Regions from separate parts of the Homo sapiens genome. Here all the other regions are linked to region 1. The links are contacts of gene promoters, found by promoter capture Hi-C in blood cells and fetal thymus (Javierre and others, 2016). All regions are on one chromosome and are shown on one strand. Each heading gives the region's core, a stretch centred on a gene start or on the middle of the fragment in contact. The rest is flanking DNA. Distances are from core to core; before and after follow the strand shown. Region 1 holds the start of ETS2 (ETS proto-oncogene 2, transcription factor). Region 2 overlaps LINC02943 (long intergenic non-protein coding RNA 2943). Region 3 has its middle 12 kb from the start of LINC01700.

What was found. The method cuts DNA at HindIII sites, captures the fragments that hold promoters and counts their contacts. A CHiCAGO score of 5 or more calls a contact.
Region 2: a contact is called between a fragment that was not itself captured here and the fragment with the promoter of ETS2 in region 1, in 11 of 17 cell types (endothelial precursors, M1 macrophages, megakaryocytes and 8 more). The highest score is 19.0, in endothelial precursors.
Region 3: a contact is called between a fragment that was not itself captured here and the fragment with the promoter of ETS2 in region 1, in 7 of 17 cell types (M0 macrophages, megakaryocytes, M1 macrophages and 4 more). The highest score is 12.1, in M0 macrophages.

The regions. Positions count from the first base shown.
Region 1 is chr21:38,803,808-38,807,820 of GRCh38, reverse strand. ETS2 (ETS proto-oncogene 2, transcription factor) reads right to left here and starts at 1,892. Exons shown (of 10, transcript NM_005239.6): 1 at 1,701-1,892. RefSeq lists silencers at 1,170-1,269, 1,290-1,389, 1,500-1,789, 1,980-2,049, 2,070-2,399 and enhancers at 2,510-2,669, 2,680-2,739, 2,920-3,059, 2,593-3,093. The HindIII fragment of the contact is 4,522 bases long and covers 721-4,013 here.
Region 2 is chr21:39,024,787-39,028,799 of GRCh38, reverse strand. LINC02943 (long intergenic non-protein coding RNA 2943) reads left to right here. Exons shown (of 7, transcript XR_001755055.2): 7 at 101-276. Among named protein-coding and RNA genes, the nearest start is that of LINC02940, 7.5 kb to the right of the region's middle. The HindIII fragment of the contact is 2,234 bases long and covers 600-2,833 here.
Region 3 is chr21:38,963,672-38,967,684 of GRCh38, reverse strand. No RefSeq gene overlaps it. Among named protein-coding and RNA genes, the nearest start is that of LINC01700, 12 kb to the left of the region's middle. The HindIII fragment of the contact is 2,334 bases long and covers 497-2,830 here.

The sequences.
Region 1 (4,013 bases), core at 643-3,142:
AGGCTTGCAGACTGCTTGCTGACTTGATTCTGTTTTTCAGCTTCTCTGAGATGGACAGAGAATGAATGTGGAAGGCAGTGGAAAAGCTCTCCCCAGCTTTTGTGTACAAATACCAGGAGAAAAGGCAGCCTACCACTCCCACATAAAGAGCTGTAATTACTAGCTACAGAATAGAATTCTTTTGTTGTCCAGCTTTTAATGAGTTTTGTAAAAACCATGCAGAATTAAAGTGCTCTACTAAATGGTTTCAGGCAGACACACAACTAATCAAATTTAAGCTTGCTTATTTTACTCAACAGGGCTTGTTAGATGGCAGACAAGCCAAGTTTTTCCACATAAATCAATTTCAAGTTTGGTGTTGCTGATGGATCGCTGCTTTTAAACCAAAAAAAAAAAAAAAAAAGGATAAAGAGCAGAAATGTAACAGCTGAGAATGGTTACATTTAAAAACAAGGAGAATTTGCCTGACAACAGTACCCTTATTGGAACAAGTAATCACTTATGTAAGATTATTTAGATAAATTTGAAAACAAACAAAAAAAAGAAACAACACAACCTTGTAACACACATTTGAAGGTAGTTTGCTTTTTTCGCTTTGAAAGCGATCAGTTTAGAGAGATGAATGACTAATCCCAGAAATGAGTATCTGAGCATTTCCCTGCGGATGGTCGGTGCTAACATTTACTGTGCTGCGCTACTACTCAGAATTTTAATAAAGCTTAACGTGGAGATTTATCTCTCTGATTGGTGGTGGTGTGGGCAGGCAGATAACGCACAGGCGCTTCCATTGTATGGAACAAATATAATCTCTTACTGGCGAATTAAAATAAATTACTCCTGTCTCCAAAGGGGACTGCTCATTTCTTTACTTTCTAAATAACTAGCGCGTCAACTACTGTTTTAGGCTACCCTGAAATTGTGTACAGGCTAACATAAAAGGTCTCCTGCCGTAAAAAATAAAATAGGATAACACACACGCAACCCAAACACACACAAGCAAACACTCAGTTACCTCTTCATTCAAATGCTGTAGGAACGAGAAAATAAAGGCAGCCCAGCGCAACCAGATCTCATTTCCGACAGGTTCCCCACGCTCTCCTCGCACGACCGAGGGGTCCCCAGCCCGGGCCCTGGACGCGGCGAGCAGGTGACCATGGCACCCCGCGCCCCGCAGGTTCCCGCGGTGCCGCAGCCTTCAGGTGTCTTGGGCGCCCCAGATCCTCCGGGCCCGGCGCCGCTCCAGGAAGTCACCCTCAAAGCCGGGGCGCCAGGCCACCTCGGACACGCTCTCCTGTGCCCCCACTCCCGTTCGCGAAATCATGTTCGCCGGGACATCCACTGGGCAGGACCCCCTACCAGGCCTGCGTTTCCTTTTAAAAACAAAAGCGAGCGAAACAAGCCAGCGCGCCCTGGCCGCGCCCGCCGCTAGGCGACCCCGAAGACAGCGGCCCTAGCACGCAGGAACCCCCCGGCCGACCCCGCCAGCCCCGGAGGCCACTCCATAACCGGAAAACGAGCCGGCGCGGAACTCAGACGCGCGCCCCTAGAGTCCTCGCAGCAGCCGCCACCCCCACCTGCACCCCCGGCAGCGCCCCGAGATCTGCGTGTCAGTGCCCCCCGCGACCCCCGCCCAGGCCCCGGGTGACCCTCCATGGGACTGGAGCCGCGCGCCGGGCGCTCTCTGCGGGCCCAGCTCTTACCCTGCCGCTGCGGGCAGGGCCGGCGCTTGGTCGGGACGGTGGCTGCTCGGCGCCCGCGGCTGCTCGGTGCGCGCCGGGCGAGGGCGAGGGCGCCGGCCAGAGACGATCAGGGAGGCCGGACGCTGGCCGGGCGGCTCCGGGAGCTCTGAGCTGGAGCGACACCGCACTCGTCAGTCTCTGGAGGAAGTAACCGGGCCGTCCCCCACGCGGCGCGCTCTTCAGGAGCGGGAGGAGGAGGGAGGAGGGAGGAGGAAGGAGGGACGGCCGAGTGGAGGGGAGGGGAGGAAACGAGGGAGGAGAGAAGAGAGAGGGGAGGGAAGGGGAGGAGAGAGAAGAGGAGGGGAAGGGAGGTAGGCAGGATGGGGAGAAGCGGGAGGAGAGGGAAGGGGGCAGCAGGAGGGTTGGGGGAGCGGAGGGAGAGGAGAGGGAACGCACGAGGGGAGAGAAGAGGAGGGCGGAGGCGGCGAGGGAGCGCGGGGCGGGGCTGACACCTTCCGGCCCAACCTTCCCTCCGCCTCCTGCTGTCACTCGGCTGGGTCCCTCGCCGGCTGGCCCTGAGGCCCCGGGAGCAGGGCCTCGGCCCCACGTGCGCGCGAGTGTGCGCCCTGGGAGCCGGGCGGAGACTTTCCGTGGAGCGCTCGGCGTCCTCTCTGGGGCCAAGGCCCTAACGCCAAACCTGCCTTTGGAATTCCGCAGCGACGGAGCAGTGGTGCTGGTGGCACCGAAGGGCAGCCGGGCTTGGGTAATAAGGCCCTGAAATTGAGCCGACCCCATTCTTGAACCTCTGAATGGGCTTAGGACTAATGATCATTCTATCACAAAAAGGCTCCAAATGAGGCGCTTCCTGTAGAAACCGGGCCCTGGCTGTGTCCCCGAGTCGTGGTGCTGATCGCGCTGCTCCCGGGAAGCCCCGATCCCGCAGGCTCCGCGGGAGTGGCGCCCTCTGGAGCTGAGCGGTGCCCAGATAGCGACCCGCCTTGGCCGCGCTTCAATCTGGGCTGGGCACTCCACGCACATCATCGTCACTCTCGGAGGACTTGCGGCTCCCACTTTACACAGGTGGGAACTGAACCTTAGGATGAATAACCTGCCACGTCAGATTGATGAGAAATTCAAGGTGGAAACCTGAGTTTATCTGACTCCGAAACCCTGGTCAAAACCACCCCCTACACTGTGGTTTCCGTTTTTATCAGAAGGTGCTTGAGTCCATGGCTGTTTGGACTCAGGTCACATGCTCAATATTTTGCAGGAAAGTTTAGATTCCTGAAGTTGTGGATGAAATAGGAAACCCCAGCTTAGGCGAGGCCACGGGGCTGAAAGCTGCTCACATCTCAAGAACTGCGGCACCACCGGGAAGGGAGAGGAATGGCCCAGCTTCTCTGTGACTCAGGGTTCTAGGTTTCCATGGTGACTCTAGGTCTAGAGTTATCCGGATAATTGAGATATCGGTGCACCTTAATGTTTCTGGGTCCCCGAAGGTCTCCGGGTATCACCGTGGCATGAGTCACAGTCAGAATCTATACGGCTGAAACAATCACGTATAGGGGAAGTGATTATTTCTTGGAGACTGAATTGATTCTGATGGCTTCTCAGTGTATATTCAGGCCCAGATTAGAGAACACAGATAGGTCAAGAAAGAGTTCCATAAATGGAATACAGATCCATAGTAAGTTACCATGGAGACATGAGTATGTTACTATTTTTTTAAAAAACCGTAGCAGAAAATACTGACTCATCTGGGCTGCAGTTTCAGCTAATATAGGGTCTTTCTCCCTCAGGCTACTTGCACAGCCCTGAGAAGCTGGGTATAGACAGCTGCTCCCCAAAGCTCAGCTACTTCCCGAAGCTCACTTGCCCCAAGCAGACTGCCTTGTCCCACCATGCCTGCCCTCGTGTTCATGGGTGCTGAGTGCCAGGTGCTCCAGGGCTCCCTGAGTCGCTGATGGGCTCCCTGAGTGGAGCCATATTTCCTCTTTGCAGGGCTGGCACAGGCTGGGGGCTAGGAGGTGGTGCTTTGCTCATGCTGGGCTGTTTCCAACATATATGAGCAGAAAGATATCAAAAGAGGAGCACAGGAGTTTGAAGACCACCGGTTCCCGACAGTGGAACCTTCCTCTGCTCACTAACCTTGGGCCTCCTCTACAGAATAAGGGATGATTATGGAACCTACGTCCTTAAGACTATGGCAAATGACATAGAACCAAATGTGCAGAATATGTTAGAGTGTTGAGTACATGGTAGAGAAGGACTCAAAATGATCTAGCTATTAAGAATCTTTTTCCAAGCTCTCCTCAGGGAGGATTTTATAGAAAA
Region 2 (4,013 bases), core at 467-2,966, 220 kb before region 1:
CAGCAAAGGCTGCTCAGACAGCCAGGGAGGGCATCTTTGCAGGGTTCTGAGATGGAGGCTGTATTTCTCAGAGCAAATCCCCTTGCTCTGTTTCTTTCAGAAGCCATGATGACCTTGTTGAATCCAGCCATTCTGCAAGTGCCTGTTTTGACTTTAGGGATGGAAGTCCTTCCAGGCATGCCAAGAGGGAAGGAAACATGGCAGGTGCACTGGCTTTGAAGTTGCCGTGGTGGTTGCAATCCTGCATCTGTCTGTTCCTGATGGGGTGACCTCAGGCAAGTTGCTTGGCCTCCCTGAATCCCAGTTTTCTAGTGTGCAAGATGGGGACCATATTGCCTTGGGGATGACTTCAAGGACTGAGAGAGGTATTTTTTTTTCTTTGAGACAAAGGCCTTGCTCTGTCACCCAAACCGGACAGCAGTGGTGCAATCACAGCTCACTGCAGCCTCAACCTCCTGGGCTCAAGGGATCCTCTCACTGCAGCCTCCTGAGTAGCTGGGACTGCAGGCATGAGCACCATGCCTGGCTAATTTTTCAATTTTTTGTAGAGATGGAGTCTCACTGTATTACCCAGTCTAGAGGGAGATAAATTCTAAGCTTAGTACAGCACCTGGCTTATATGAAGAACTCAGTAATCAGTGATATTTACTTCATGTATTTATAGTTCCTAACATGGGTGTTTAGTCAGCCTCCCTTTTGCCACATCTTCCAACTGTTCAGATATCCTACTTGTCTGCCTCCTCCTCCATGAACCCTCCCTAGGTTCCCCCAATCCTCAATGATTTCCATCTCCTCTGTTGTCAGTTTGCCCCATTCCTGCCACTAGGACTCTCTGAGTGTTTCTTGTGCATTAATGTTGTTTCATTAAGAGTGGGGAGGTGGCCTCAGAAGTGGTTCAGTGGTAGTTTAAGATGCTAGGTAAGAGCACAGATTCTGCAGCCACACTGCCTGGGTTCAAATCCTGACTGGGCCACTTAACACCAATACGATTTAGTTTCCTTATCTGTAAAATGGGTTCAATAACAGTTCCTGTCTCATAGAGCTGTGAAAAAGGATTAAGTGAGATCCATTTAGATCCATGCCTGAGCTTACATGTGCTGTGTAAGTGTTAGCTATTATTATGCCCACCTGTGTAATTTTGGTAAGTTGGCGTATCTTTGTGAACCTCAGTTTTCTCATCTGCAAACCAGTAGTAATAAAATGTAATCCTCTGGGCTGTGGAATTAGATGAAGTGCTGAACATGTGGGCACAGTGCTGGGTGCATGGTAAGCACTCAGTGTTGGTAGTGGTTGTTTTTGTCAGTTCCTGGGGACAGGAGCTCTGTCTTGGTCAAGCTGGGAATACATTTTCCAGAGTCTCCTTTTTTGGGGAGTTCTGATAGAACTTGGCCCATTTAACAAACAAAATAACAGAACTTCTATTTAAAGTTGAATGCAGATCAATCATAGCAAATTTTCAGTGTAACCATATCCCATGTATTGCATGGGAAATACTTATGCCTAAAAAATTATCCACTGTTGATCTGCAATTCAAATTTAGTGGGGCATCCTGTATTTTACATAACAACCCCTCAAGAGGAACTAGTGTGAGTCTCAGAAAATCAATGGATGGAGGCAGAGGTGCTGATGGATCCCAGTGTGTCTTCTCTCTCCTCTGCTCTGGCCCTGCTGTGGCTCCCCTGGGGTCCTGGCTCCAAAGGTGGACATGCTGGGCTTGTTGAATCCTGGCATGCTCTGTGCAAATCCCTCAACAATTGTCCAGAGTCTGCCCCCTCTCAGCAACCCCACAGCTATTGCCCTGGCCCCTTCCTCACTCTGGGTACCATACCCCAGCTGTTCTCTACACAGCATCCAGAGATATCCCTTTAAAGGTGACACTGCTGGTTGGTTTCGGTTGCTCACACATGTAATCCCAGCCCTTTGGGAAGCCAAGGCTGGAGGATCACCTGAAGTCAGGAGTTTGAAACCAGCCTGGCCAACATAGTGAAACCCCGTCTCTAAAAATACAAAAATAAGCTGGGCGTGGTGGCATGTAGCTGTGGTCCTAGCTACTTGGGAGTCTGACGCAGGGGAATCACTTGAACCCAGGAGTCAGAGGTTGCAGTGAGCTGAGATCATGCCACTGCACTCCAGCCTGGGTGACAGAGCAAGACTCTATTTAAAAAAAAAAAAAAGTGACACTGCCTTCTCAAAGCCCTGCAGCGGCCCCCTTCTCACGAAGAATAAAATCTGGAGTCTGGACCTTTGCTTCCAGGCCCTGACTGTTCTGGCCCCAGCCTCCCTCTGGCCTCTTTCCTCCTGTCTCTTGCTCACTTGCTCTGCCCCAGACACACCTGCTTCTTGATGTTCCTGGAAGCACCTGCTGGTCCTTTTTGGATGAGACATTCTGTCCCCTGAGTACAGGAATGCTTGCTCCCCCCACACTTCACAGCATCTTTGTGCAAACGTCCCGCCCCCGAGAACTCGACCCTGGGCTGGGCTCCCCTCTCACCTTGTCTTTTCCTCTGGGCGATCATCACCTCTTGACACTCCCAGCACTCTTCTGTTTGTTGACTGTCCCCTTCACAGTCCCAGGAGCCCATGAGGGCAGGGACTCCGAGATGTCCTCTGCTGCATCCTGGCCACAGCTACACGCCTCCCTGGATGGACGCCCCGTAGGCCAGTGTGGAACGAATGGGTCACGTAGTGGTGATGAGATGGGGAGGCTTTGCAGGTTCCCACGCTGTAGAACTTGGCAAATGAGTGAAATTGTGCCAGGAAACAATTCTTGGAGTTCTTGTATCAGCTCAAAGCCTTAAGGTTGAGCCTGTGGCAGGTAATGTTGAACCAAGCTTCTGGAAGTTTCTGCCAGTGACACCCATGTCCAGTGGTTGGACTCATTTTGACTTTGTGCTCTTTGTATCGCTGATTCTTCCTTCTTTTCCTCTTCCTGTTGTCAGTAGTATTGATTGGTAACTGGGCTCACTTAAGCATTTAAAAGGACAATGATGGAAATGCAGCCTTGCTCTGTAATAACATGAAGGGCGAACCGTTTCATTAGAATGCCGTAGAGTTCTCCGGGGGGTGGGGGGGTTGCATCCTTAGGACATTGCTACTGTTTGGATGTTCGCCCCTTCCAAATCTCATGCTGAAATTCGATCCCAGATGTTGGAGGTGGGGCCTGGTGGGAGGTGTTGGGTCATGGCGGTGGATCCTCATGAATGACTTAGCACCATTCCCTTGGTGATGAGCGAGTTCTCACTCATTTCACGTGAGATCTGGTTGTTCAAAAGTGTCTGGGACCTCCCGTTTTCTCTCATGCTCCTGCTCTCGAGTGTGATGTGTGTACCCCACCCCCTTGCTTTCCACCATGAGTGAGAGCTCCCAGAGGCCTCCCCAGAAGCTGAGCAGATGCTGGCATCACACTTCCTGTACAGCCTGCAGAACTGTGAGCTAAATAAACCTCTTTTTTTTTTTTTTTTTAAAGTTATCCAGCCTCAGATATTTCTTTATGGCAATGCAAAAATGGCCTAACACATTCATTTCAGCTGTGTCAGTACCCCAGCTGCCCTCAGAGGTGGAAGGGATGTATGTTTCGCCTAATGTGCACTTAGAAAACTAAGTGCAGGCCGGCTGCAGGTGGCTCACACCTGTAATCCCAGCACTTTGGGAGGCCGAGGTGGGCAGATCACCTGAGGTCAGGAGTTCAAGACCAGCCTGGCCAACATGGTGACACCCTGTCTCTGTTAAAAATACAAAAAATTAGCCAGGCATGGTGGTGCATGCCTGTAACACCAGCTACTTGGGAGGCTGAGGCAGGAGAATCATTTGAATCCGGGAGGTGAAGGAGGTTGCAGTGAGCTGAGAGCATGCTGCTGCACTCCAGCCTGGGTGACAGAGTGAGACTCTGTCTCAAAACAAAACAAAACAAAAGAAAACAAAAAAAACAACTGAGTGCAGAGGTTAATACCTTCCCAAATCCTATAGTCGCTGAGTGTAAGCTGAAGCTCACCTTTTCCCCTTTCTTTTTAATT
Region 3 (4,013 bases), core at 414-2,913, 160 kb before region 1:
AATCCTAGCACTTTGGGAGGCCAAGGTGGCTGGATCACCTGAGGTCAGGAGTTCGAGACCAGCTTGGCCAACTTGTGAAACCCTATCTCTACTACAAATACAAAAATTAGCTGGGCGTGGTGGTGTGTGCCTGTAATCCCAGCTACCCGGGAGGCTGAGGCAGTGGAATCACTGGAACCTGGGAGGTGGAGGCTGCAGTGAGCCGAGATTGTGCCACTGGATTCCAGTCTGGGCAACAGGGCAAGTCTCCATCTACAAAAAAAAAAAAAAAAAAAAAAAAAAAAAAGAAGTACGGAGTCCTTCTCAGACCATATTTAGTTCACTTTAACAGCTGTTTTGTTTCAGATTAAATAAATCAGTAAGATGCTTTAATCCACATTTTCATAAGATTGAGAATATCAACTCTTTATCAAACAATGTTATTTTCATCATATCAAGGGGTGGCTTTGAGGTTGCTGATGGAAATGAAGGCGGGAACTAACATGTCTCCCAAGCTTCCTTGGCTGGATAGGGCTGGATAGCTGGAGGTAGCCTGCCACTTCTCTCCTGAAGCTGGTGAATGGCACACCTCAGACAGCTGCCCTTGTGTCTCTTAACCTGTCCCTTTGCAAGGACGCATTGTCAATCACAATCCCTTACTTCCTATGTTTTCTGACCTCCCTCCATACTCCATTAAAGGAGTCTGGATTTTTATCGAAGTTCTGTCACTTGACAGCTGTGGGTGACCTTGAACAAGTCACTGATGCTCTCTAAGCCTCGGGTTCCTTATTTATAAAATGGGAATCAGAATACTTCCTACCTCATAGGGCAATGATCAGATTAAATATGATAATATTTGGAAAGCAGTTGCCACCGTGCCTGGCATATTTAAAATATTCTCACTATTGCTGTCATCATCATCATCACAGCAGCAGTAGTAGTAGGTATTTGTATGTGTTTTTGCAGCAGAGGCTAGAGTCTTGGAGAATCTTTAATATGCTCAGAGTTATTAGAGCATTGCCATCTTTGCTGGAGAAAAGGACTTGTCTTAGCTGTGTTTTGTTATCTAGTTAAGTTCAAAAATGCCCACCTGAGATCTGCGGGGGGGGGGGGGGGGGGCAGTGCACCCTTTTAAACCCTGAGAAATGGAAATTAATTATGACAGCAAAAAGACCACCATCCTAGTCAGAATGAGCTAGGCTTATCGTGCTGTAACAAACAACCCTAAAAATCTCAGTGCCATAATATGCAACAGCTGATTTCTTGCTCACTGCAAGCCCATCATAGGTAGGCAGTGGCGGAGTCTGCGCTCTACCCCGTGCAGGGCCCCTGCCTCCGCTCTCTGGAAGTTTGCTGGTTGCCATAGGGGAGAAGAGTGAGACTGGGGAAAGGCTCAGGAGCGTTTCACTGCCTCAGCCTGGAGGCGCAGGTCAGTTCCGCTTGCATTTCATTGGCCAGTACTGGTCACATGGGCTGAGAATTACAGGTTCCTATCGCTCCAGGAAGGAGCCTGAAACTGGCCGGCTCTGAGTCAGTTCATCCCTAGCGTGTCCGTGTCCGCAAAGGGCACAGCAAAGACCTTAACGCAGCGCCAGAGGCCATGTGGCCAGGGGTTTTGTTTAGAGTAGGAGCTGACAAACATTTTCTTAAGGGGCCAGAGAGTAAATATTTTAGGCTCTGAAGGCCATGTGGTCCCTGACGCAACAACTCAGCTCTAGAAAGGAGCCTAGGCAATGTGTAAATAAATGGACCTGGCTGAGTGCCAATGAAACCTCATTTGCAGAAACAGGTGGGCCCTGCAGTCCCTGGTTTAGAGCAGCCCAGAGCATCTCTTAGAAAACCAAAATCGTATTTTTAATAAAAACATAATATTCCAAGTGATCCCCCTCAATTTGCCAGATGAATAGGGCTGCTGTGACGAGATGAGGATAATGTGAGGGGGTATTCAAATGACCACAGTTACCATCTCAGTGACAGACGTGAACCCAAAAGTATCGGGGACATGTCTCAATCTATTTAGAAAGTTTTATTTTGCCAAGGTTAAGAATGCGCCCGTGACACAGCCTCAGGAGGTCCTGAGGACATGTGCCCAAGATGGTGGGGCACAGCTTGCTTCCATACATTGCAGGGAGACATGAGACATCAATCAATATTTGCGAGATGTACGTTGGTCCTGTCTGAAAGGGTGGGACAACTCGAAGTTGGTGGCGGGGGCAGGGTGACTTCCAGGTCATAAGCACGTGTAAACATTTTCCAATTGGCAATTGGTTGAAAGAGTTACTATCAATAGAAAGGAATGTCTGAGTTACGATGAAAGGTTGTGGAGACCAAGGTTTCATCATGCAGAGGAAGCCTCGAGGTAGCAGGCTTCAGAAACAAGATATTGTACATGTTTCTTGTCAGACTGAAGGTCTGTGTTGATGTTGGGGTGATGAGGCATGTCTGACCCCCACTTCCCGTCCTGGCCTGAACTAGATTTTCAGGTTAACTCTGGAAGGCCCTTGGCCGAGAGGGGGGATCCGTTCAGATAGCTGAGGGGCATTAGAATTTTATTTTTGGTTTATACAGACAACGATGACTAGCTTCTATTCTTGCCCCATAGATTCTTAAAGTACTTCCGTTATTCCAATGCCTTTTTTTTTTTTTTTTTTTTTTTTAGAAAAAGAAGTAAACGATCTCACTGTTTTGGAACTCTGAGTTTCTAATTTGAAACAGCAGAATGGGATATTTAAGAGCAGATGAGAAAAGTTAGCAACTGCTGAGTCTTCTTTAGCATAATTCATTTAACATATAACCTAGGTAGCCCTTATTTTCACATATTTTAAGTGTTCTAGAAACGCCTTTGGAAGCTTCTTCAAGGAGAAGCCAAACTTAGAAATTCCTTTTCTCTCTCTCTTCTTCCATAAATACCCCAAAGCGGCCACTGCACCAAGCGCTGTTCTAGGCATGAGGATGTCGGAAGAGAGGCCCAGTGACAAGGTCGATGTTTCCATGGAGGTCACAATTCAGGCAATAAGTACACAAACAAACGAGTAAACGCAGCACATTTAAATACCTGTGAGTGCAATAGAAAACAGCTCAGTGAGAGTGAGGGTGGTGTAAGAGTGGATGGTGTCCGTGAGGAAAGCAGCATCTGTTTCTAAACGTGAGGCTGCCAGTGTCCACCTGCAGGAAAGGCTGTCCTTCTGGTTAAGTTGAGCAGAACAGGATTTAATGCAGGGTATTAGGTACTTTCAGAATCCCTCAGAAGGCTGGGCCTCCACAGCAGCTCCCCAAATCACACCCCGTGGGCTGCCCGGAGCTGCGCTCACTGCTGCTGTCAGGAAAATCAGGAACCAGTAGCTGGGGTAGTAGCCACTGGCTCAAGAATGTGTGACAGGGCTGGGCGCAGTGGCTCACACCTGTAATCCCAGCACTTTGGGAGGCTGAGGCGGGCAAATCACGAGGTCAAGAGATTGAGATCATCCTGGCCAACATGGTGAAACCCTGTCTCTACTAAAAATACAAAAATTAGCTGGGCGTGGTGGTGCACACCTGTAGTCCCTGCTACTCGGGAGGCTGAGGTAGGAGAATCGCTTGAACCCGGGAGGCAGAGGTTGCAGTGAGCCGAGATCATGCCGCTGCACTCCAACCTGGCGACAGAGCGAGACTCTGTCTCAAAAAAAAAGTGTGACAGGCCAGCACAGTGTCTCATGTCTGTAATCCCAGCACTTTGGGAGGCCGAGATGGGAGGATATGAGGATCACTTGAGCCCAGGAGTTTGAGACCAGCCTGGTCAACATAGTGAGACCCCATCTTTACACACACACACACACACACACACACACACACGAATGTGTTACAGGCTGGATCCAGGGGTCTGGGAGCAGCCTGCCTGTAGCCATGGGAACTGCCTCATGACACTCACAAAACAAAGCCTCTTGACACTGTTGTAGGAACCCCCAGTGCTGCCACAGCTGGGCCACCCAAGAGCACCAGCCAAGAAGCAGCAACACAGCCGCCTGCTTCCACTCACCTCCACCGTCCAAACCCTA